3 separate regions of the Homo sapiens genome follow, and regions 1 and 3 are each linked to region 2. The links are contacts of gene promoters, found by promoter capture Hi-C in blood cells and fetal thymus (Javierre and others, 2016). All regions are on one chromosome and are shown on one strand. Each heading gives the region's core, a stretch centred on a gene start or on the middle of the fragment in contact. The rest is flanking DNA. Distances are from core to core; before and after follow the strand shown. Region 1 overlaps FBXL4 (F-box and leucine rich repeat protein 4). Region 2 holds the start of UFL1-AS1 (UFL1 antisense RNA 1). Region 3 overlaps USP45 (ubiquitin specific peptidase 45).

What was found. The method cuts DNA at HindIII sites, captures the fragments that hold promoters and counts their contacts. A CHiCAGO score of 5 or more calls a contact.
Region 1: a fragment that was not itself captured here is called in contact with the fragment with the promoter of UFL1-AS1 in region 2 in 1 of 17 cell types (non-activated CD4 T cells); the score reaches 5.6 in non-activated CD4 T cells.
Region 3: a fragment that was not itself captured here is called in contact with the fragment with the promoter of UFL1-AS1 in region 2 in 1 of 17 cell types (non-activated CD4 T cells); the score reaches 5.8 in non-activated CD4 T cells.

The regions. Positions count from the first base shown.
Region 1 is chr6:98,922,807-98,925,769 of GRCh38, reverse strand. All of the region lies in intron 4 of FBXL4 (F-box and leucine rich repeat protein 4), which reads left to right. Among named protein-coding and RNA genes, the nearest start is that of FBXL4, 24 kb to the left of the region's middle. The HindIII fragment of the contact is 5,637 bases long and covers 1-2,963 here.
Region 2 is chr6:96,520,228-96,523,036 of GRCh38, reverse strand. UFL1-AS1 (UFL1 antisense RNA 1) reads left to right here and starts at 1,323. Exons shown (of 4, transcript XR_007059687.1): 1 at 1,323-2,809. UFL1 (UFM1 specific ligase 1) reads right to left here and starts at 1,231. Exons shown (of 19, transcript NM_015323.5): 1 at 1,087-1,231. The coding sequence starts at 1,163. RefSeq lists enhancers at 1-770, 1,437-1,626, 771-1,642, 1,643-2,514, 2,515-2,809. The HindIII fragment of the contact is 5,811 bases long and covers 1-2,809 here.
Region 3 is chr6:99,512,007-99,514,873 of GRCh38, reverse strand. The region is part of intron 1 of USP45 (ubiquitin specific peptidase 45); the gene reads left to right. Among named protein-coding and RNA genes, the nearest start is that of USP45, 2.0 kb to the left of the region's middle. RefSeq lists an enhancer at 1-443. The HindIII fragment of the contact is 2,311 bases long and covers 250-2,560 here.

The sequences.
Region 1 (2,963 bases), core at 334-2,833, 2.4 Mb before region 2:
ATATAATTTTATATTTTTATACACAAAAGTAAGCATATTTATCACACTGTTCTGTACCTTGTTTCACACAGTAGTATATGTTGGATCTTTTCTTGTAAGTACAAAGAGAGCTTCCTCATTCTTTCCTGCATTTGCAAGTAATGCATAGTGTGTATGAACCCCAACTTATTAACTAGTCCCCCATTGATGGGCACTTAGTTGTTTCTAGTCTTTTGCTCTTATAAACATTAATGCAGGGAATGACCTTATCATAAGTCACTTTGCATGTGTGCAAGTATATCTGTGGGATAAATTTCCTAGAAGAAGGCTACTCAACCAAGGATAATTTGATAATTTTGTAATGTTTAACATTTTTTTTTTGCATTTTAACAATTTATTCTTAGTTACATTTAATTTTAATTTTTAACAGTTGTAATTTTCATATGTAATGCCAAATTTCTCTCCAAAGAGTCTGTACTATTTATATTCCCACTAGCAGGGCATGTACATGGGTGTTTTGCCAAAGCCTCGCCTACAGAGTATGTTTATAAATTTCAATATTTTTGCAATTTAATAGGTGAAAAATGTTATCTCATGTTAACTGTTAAAATTCTTTTATTATCTCTGAGGTTGAAATCTTTTCATATGTTTAAAAGCCATTTATATTTCTTTTTCCTTTAACTATCTGATCATATTATTTGCTCATTTTTTCTATTACTCATGGATCTTAGCAGTTTCTAGGACTTCATATCACTTTATTAAATCACTCGTTCATTAAATATTTTAGTGCCTACCTAATGTGCTAGGTGTTGTTCTAGGTATTAGAGATGTGTCAGCGAGCAGTGAACAAAATAAATAAAAATTCCCGCTCTCATTCTAGCCTGAGAGCAGATCAGGGCACCTGTTCAACTGTAGGGATGGCCAGCTGCCAGTGCAGGAGGAGGCGGGCAGAGGTCAGCTGCTACCTCCGTAACATGCAGCTCCTCTGATATCTCTGTCCCCTCATCTCTAAGGGAATACTTCCAGGGCCTGCCAGAAAACATACAGAGTACAGCTCAACTTGGAGATTGCTGGTATAATCTTTACTTTTTTTTCCAGAACTACCTAATAATTCATTGCAAATAATGTTATTAGTCGTTTTTTAAACTCAGAAAGCCAGCATACCTTAATTAAAATCAGATTTTTGTTTTCTCCCTAAGAGGAAAAAATGGAGTAGGATCTTTTGTTTTGTTTTGAGACAGGGTCTCACTCTGTCGCCCAGGCTGGAGTGTAGTGGCACGATCTTGGCTCACTGCAACCTCTGCCTCTCGGGTTAATGAGATTCTCCTGCCTCAGCCACCTGAGCGGCTGGGATTACAGGTGCGTGCCACCATGCCTGGCTAATTTTTGTATTTTTAATAGAGATGGGGTTTCACCAGGTTGGGCAGGCTGGTCTCGAACTCTTGACCTCAGGTGATCCGCCTGCCTCGGCCTCCCAAAGTGCTGGAATTACAGATGGGAGCCACTGTGCATGGCAGGATCTTTTCTTATATGAGAATTGTTTTATTAGGACTCTGACATTCTTCTTACAAAGTTACCTACTTTTTTCCAAAAATCTGAAAAGATTTAGGGAGGAGATCAATGGAACATGTAATGTGTTTTCTCCAGTCTAAAACTTAACAGCTGCATAACTAATTTTAAGTACAAATCATGCTCTTGGGTTACTGAGAGTTACTGGTATATGGTTGTGATTAAAGTTAAAACTTTATTTATACCTGTATCTCTAATTTTCTTTACTGATTTTCAGCTTTAGTCTACTGAAAATACCATTACATTTTAAGAGAAAAAAAGGTGACCAATATATTATTAAGATATAAGAAAAAGCCTTTTTAAATTTTACTGATTATGAAATCAATAGATGTTTCATTGTTTAAAAATAATCTAGAAAATACCAAAAAAAAAGGAAAATATATATGAAAAAAATCTGTAATTCTTCTGCCCAGATTCAGTAACTGTTAACATTTGGGTGAATTTTTTATACAATCAGAAACATTTATTGAACACCCTCTCTGCCAGTTCACTGCTAGGAACCAAGTAGAGAGTCAGACAGAGATGGCTCTTTTTTGAGCTTACAGGCCAGCCTAGAAGAGGACCATGAGGAACATGTATTGGCAGAGGGGAGAACCTAATCTGTGGGCTCAGAGAAGGCTTCCCTGGGGAAGTGACTTACCTGGGACCTGAGGGTTGAGTGAGGCTCCAGTGTGGATAGGAAAGGAGGAGAGACAACAGCACATTTGAACGTGAGATCATGAGCTAAGATCATGGTGTTTGAAGAAGTGAGAAAAGTCCAAGAATGCAGAGAATAAGCTGTTGGCAACTGGAGACATGGGAGTAACATTCTTAAGATCTAAACTAGGGGTTTCTAGACTTTGGGATTTTATAGATTTTTTTGGATCCAGCTTCCCAGAAGAATATCTTGAGGTGACTATTCCTGTGCAATTTTTATGGAAATTTTTGTGGAAATTTTTTTATGAAGATACTCTAGGAGAAGCTAGTAAAGGAGTAGGGAAAGCATGATGGGAAAAATCAAGCAAGGATGCAATATCATGTGAAGTCCCAGTCTGCTGGGAGGCAAAGTTGCTAGAGAGCTGGGCCCTTATACTCCTGCACCAGCCAGACTTTTACCATGGGCTGGAAGGGTGGGAAAGGGGGACTGTCAATCTTCTAGGCACATGTCACTCCCTAGATGAAGCCCAAGGTAGTTCTGTGAAGAAGGTTGTAAGTGTAAACCCTTAGGAGCAAAGCAAGCCCATCTGCAGGGTGGCACATAGAACTGATGAGATGGGGGATGTGCATGTGAATGGAGTTCAGGTGGGAGGAGTCAGTCACAATAAACTAGTAACATAATAATCATCATAAAAATTAGGGAACTCATAGACTTGTCAGATTATTTACTTTGCTAAATTAACATACAGTAAAAAGACAAACAAAATGCCAATGTTACC
Region 2 (2,809 bases), core at 74-2,573:
ACTTCTACATCACAATATCTGTATTTTTCACTAACTGATTCAATAAGTTAAAAAAAAACCTTTCAGAGTAAGTAGGTTTACATATGCTTAAATCATTTATTTAATTGGTACACATCATCCCATCACAAATTTCAAGTCTGTTGTCTCTTACAGGCCTGCTTCCAATCTTCAAATCTGAAGGGAAAATTGAAGACATTTATTTAGGTAGGAAAAAAGAAAAAACAAAACAAAACAAAACAAAAAATGCCCTAATTTCCAGTTTAATCAGAATTTTCTTTTAAATTAAGTGCATAATTGCCTCACTTACACACATGGTCTGCAAGCAGGCAGGGGATGTGGCCTAGTGAAACCATAACTTTTACCCACGTTAGTTACCCATGCAGTTACGAGTTTGCTATCAGTGGTAGAAAATACAGCATAAGGGGATTGCTGTCTTCCGGCTCAAAAGGAATAAAACATCGCAGGTAGGAAGTAGTCAAAGAATAGAAAGGCTTCTATTAGCGTTATTTTTAAAAAGCAGAGTTAGGCTCCTCTGGACACATCCTCCAAAGGTTAGTGGGCTTGTAGAAAATGTCAGTGCCCTGAATAACAGATGGGGTCAGGGGTCTAGCCCTAGGTCTGTTACGAGAGATAAAAGGGCAAGAAGTTTTAAGGATCAACATACTATTTGCCAAGTACTGTACTGGGGGCGGGGGTTAGCCTCTCCTTTCGAGCTCATTCTAGATCAGGAAGTGTATAATAGCCAAGATGTCACAGTGATTTGGTGGTTGGTGGGTGAGGGAGGGTCAAAGAAATGCTCAATAAAGGCAGCTCGAAATCACCGGCCCCGTCCATGGTGGGGCGGGGCGCGCCAGCATTTCGCTGCAGCTGGGCTGGGGGGCTCCAGGGCGTCCTAGGCTGAGGACTTTCCCGCCGAGCCTTGGACTTGGAACTGCGATCCAGGCTCGGGACAGAGGGAGGAGGAGAGAATGGTGACAAGCAGCGAGAAGACCCGGGATGCAGGGCCGCGGGTCTAAAGTCCCAGATACAGGCGTGTCCGCCCACGGCCTAATTTGGGCTCCACAAAGGAGAGGGAGGGTCGGGCACCTCTGCGTGGCCTCGGCGAACTGCGCCCGCTGGAAGTCGGCCGCCAACCGCCTAATCTCTTCCCAGGCGTCCGCCATCACGGCCTGACTCGCAGTAGACGCGGAGGAACTGCAGACACGTCAGCCGACAGGCGGTGGGAGAAGAGAGGCGGAACGGGCCGCGCAGAGGGACAAGAGGCTCCGCCCCCGACGCAGACACACCAAACGCTTGCGCCCGAGGCGCGGGGGGCGGGCGGAAGTGCCGTGGTTGTACCGCGGCGCTGGGGGTTCCTCCCGGCGAGACTGGCGGGGCTGCGGCGGCTAGGAGAGTGGTGCGTAGGTGTTTCTGGGGGGGTCGTGGGCAGGATGCAGGGCTCAGTAAAGTTTAGTGTCAGAACTTTGTTTGCGCTACCCCTAATATTTCCGTAGAGTAATAGTTGTATTAACTACTTTTCTTTTTTCTTCTGTCCTCCATTTGTTTTGGGGGAGGGTGCGGAGGAATAAGCCTGTGTCTAAGATTGGCGCCTCTCTTCTCTAGCTGTTAACTCTGAGCATTCCCTTTTGTATAGGGTATCGTGTTAATTTTTACATGCACCCAGAGCAGTCTGCCTTTTGGAAGATACATGGGAGACCCTACCGAAAGTAATTACTTTTTTTTTACAGAGTGAATAAATTTGCGTGTCATAAAGGCTGTATAATTGCTTTCGTGTCTAGAGTTCTAGAGTCTTTCGTATTTCTCTTATTGCAATGATTAACTTCATCAAATAATGAGGAATATAAACATAAGGTGCATGGCTATCAAGGAAACAGGGAAAGCAAAGAGAACATGTATCCTGCTTCCCTGTTGAGTAGATATTTACTCAGGTGTACCTTTCTTTTTTATATCTTTTTTATATCTTATGAATTGAAAATAAATCATGGGACCCCCAAATCACTAAGCTAAAGGGAAAAGTCATACTGGGAACTGCTTAGGGAATCCTGCCTCCCATTCTATTCAAAGTCACCCCTCTGCTCACTGAGATAAATGCATGTCTGATTGCCTCATTTGGAGAGGCTCATAAGAGAATGCAACTGTCTGTTATCTACCTATGACTTGGAACTTCCTCCCCACTTGGAGTTGCCCCGCTTTTCCAGATCAGACCAATGTTTATCTTACATATATTGATTGCTGCCCCATGTCTCCCTAAAATGTGTAAAACCAAGCTGTGCCCCAGCCACCTTGGGCGCATGTTGTCAGGATCTGTGCCATGTCATGGATGCAAGTTCTTAACTTTGGCTAAATAAACTTTCTGAGTTGATTGTGACCTGTCTCAGATATTTGGAGTTCATGTATCTCACTCTTTACTATTTAAAAAATATTATTCCAGTTAGAAAGAATGAATAATATCAAGTATTTGATAGCACAGCAGGGTGACTAGTTGTCAGAGGCGTTTGAACTAGAGCAACTCCATCTTGAATAGGGGCTGGGTAAAATAAGGCTGAAACCTACTGGGCTGCATTCCCAGGAGGTTAGTCACAGAGTGAGATAGAAGGTCCACAGGCAGGAAAAACAAGTCATAAAGACCTTGCCGATAAAACAGGTTGCAGTAGTGAAGCCAACCAAAACCCACCAGAAACCAAGATGATGAATACAGTGACCTCTGGTCGTCTTCACTGCTCATTATATGCTAATTATAATTCATTATCATGTTAAAAGACACCCCCACCAGTGCCATGACAGTGTACAGATGCCATGGCAACGTCTG
Region 3 (2,867 bases), core at 156-2,655, 3.0 Mb before region 2:
ATAGCAACTTATCTCCTAAGGTGGTTGTGAGGGTTGCGTGGGTTAATATTTGTGAAGTGCTTAGAACTGAGCGTGATACACAGCAAAACCATAAGTGCTGCTCATCTTTTTGAGCTTGGTATATAAAAGGAGATAGTGACCTTTTCTTCTCTTTCCAACCCCCATAAATAATTGCCCAAGAGTAGGAAAAAAGGATTTTTTTTTCTTAAGGATATGGGCTTTTTGCATAGCCTGTTTAAAAACAAAGCTTTCTAAACAACTTAGTTGCACATCCTACTTTAGAGAAAAGACAAGTGTTAAGTGATGGTGACTTGAAAACTGTAAAGTTTATTGTTTGGAAAACCGCATGAGAAAAATGGCCAGAACATATTTGTGCTAAAAAGAGTTAACATAGCAGGCCTTAAGACTGCTATCCTTAGAAAGGACTGCTTGCAATGTTGGTGCTTGTTTGGCATCTGGGAACTTAGATTTTTGGGTTTGTGCTGAACAGTATGTTTTATGCCGAAATTACCAGCTTCTGTAAAAATCCGGGACACCAAGTCTTTAATGGGCTTCCCTGCGCGGAAACTGCTGCATTTTCACTGATGGAGGAAGGATGTGTTTTGTTTGACCCCTCTTGGGAGGGAGACCGCATAAGGAGCCTACACGTGATTCCTCCAGACTCCGCTTGTGTCTTTTTCTATTATGATGAGCCTTTATATCCATACTGCATTGTGTAATAAATGTCAGCCATGAATTCAACTATATGTTGAGTCCCGTGCATCCTATCAAAGCTCTAAATGTGGGGGAGATCACGGAGATCCTCAGCCACAGTTTTGTAAATTTGTATAAAGGTAAGGGATATAAGTGCCGTTTTTTTACGAGGATATATTTCCTAGTGGTACTGGGCTTTTAGTGTAACCATCACCTGAATAATGTACATTGTGTCCATTAAGCAATTTCTCATTCCTCACCCCACTCCCATCCTTCCCAGTCTCCAGTGCCCAGACACAATTTTGATGATAAAAAGTATTGGAAGCTCTAATAATTGGACTTTTAATTTTGCCCTTTTGCCTCAAATGGAAATTGGAAAACTACAGATAAATAATTGCCGAATTCTGGGTTACTGTACCAAATGATTCTGTCTGTTTAGACATTACATATGGCAGAAAAATCATCAGAAATTGCCTCTACATTACCAAGTTAATTTTGAGTCAGTGTTTTTGAAAAAAGGCACAGGTTGCTTACAGTATGTAGGTCAAATGCCTGGTTTTGTTTATTATTTTGCTAGCATTATCTGTGTTAATGCTCATCTTTATCAAGAGCTTATCTGTACCACAGCGAGAAAATATAATCAGTTTCTCATAGGCCATTTTCCCTGTACTTTATTAGTTATACCTATCTCTTTTCAGGACATCAAATTTAAATTGATGGAGGTAGGTTTGCAAATTTGGGGTTAGAAAGATCAAATTTGCCGTCTGCTTATGTCTCTTTTCCCTTATAAAAGACTAGATCAGTTTTTGGTAAGTTAGTTGGGAGTTGGAGGGGTTAGAGGTTTGAGGAAAGTGAAGAAGATTTGAAATGGCTCTGTGGATAGTATGTAAGTTGACCAGAAGGTGAAGTGAATAATAATGGACCTAGTCTGCTTTCTTAAGAGACTTTCTCCCGACATGGAGAAAATGGTTAATTGGGTTCATCTAGGATTGGGTTCTGCGAGAGAGGTGATGTAGTCCTTAAGGCTCTGCACAAGTATTCCGGTTCACCTATTTTTGGGTACATGTAATGCTGCACTCTTTGTACATGGGCAACCCCTCTCCATGTCTGCTTGAAGTTAAATGTGCCATGTGACTTGCTTTAGGAAGCAGCTCTCCATTTGCCATTTCCACTTCTCCCTGCCCTGCTGTAAGGGTCATGGAAGGACTTGTTGAGATGCAGCCTCTTGTCAGCCTGGACACTATAGGAAAATATGAGTGGCTGATCAGGCAAGTTGGAAGAACTGGGAAGTTGCTGTCAGAGAAGGGGATACTTAAATTAGTGATTTTATAAGGTGGAACTGTAGGGGAGAGTAGATGAGGAAGTTTGGAGGGAGAAGGTAGAGATGAAGTGCTCAAGGAACTCAGAGGCTTTTTACATGTTCCTAACCCGGAAGCCCTTAATTTATTGCAACTTAGTTCAGTAGTGATGACCGTTGGACTTAATGGTAAACTTGAAAGCTCCCTTATTGTGAATTATGGAATGAATAAATCAAGATTTGGAATTTAGTACTGAATTGAAAGATTCATTACCTTGATCATTGAGAAGTAAGTCAGCAACCATGAAAATTGCGATGTTGCTTAGCCACCAGGCAGGAGAGTAAAAGGTAGGCCAAGCTACTCTAACAGAGACTCCAAAATATAGTAGTTTTAAAAAATGCTTAGCTTGTATCTAAAATCTTTGATAATTAACTGAATTTTTAATAAATATAAGGGATAGAGGTAAATAACACTATGAAGAAAGAGACAAATTCAGTGTGAGACATTATATAACTTTGCTGTCGAAAGAGTATTCTATGGGCCCCCAGCAGTGGCTTCAGTTAGAAGCTTTTTAGGTAGGTAGAATCTCAGGTCTTGTGCCAGACTTGTTGCATCAGAACTTTCATTTTAACAAGACCCTCAAGGTGACTCATGCACTGGCCTGATCTCTTTAAAAAGCTAAAGTCTTAGGCAAGTAACAGGTTGGAAGAACTGTTCTGTTAATAGATTAAAAGATACTAAAGAGACATAACCAATATCAAGTGCAAACCTTGATTGAATCTTTTTCAAAAAACCAGCTATAGAAGACAATTTAGGGTCAACTAAGGAAATTAGAATATGATGGAATATGAGATGATATTAGAAAATTATTAATTT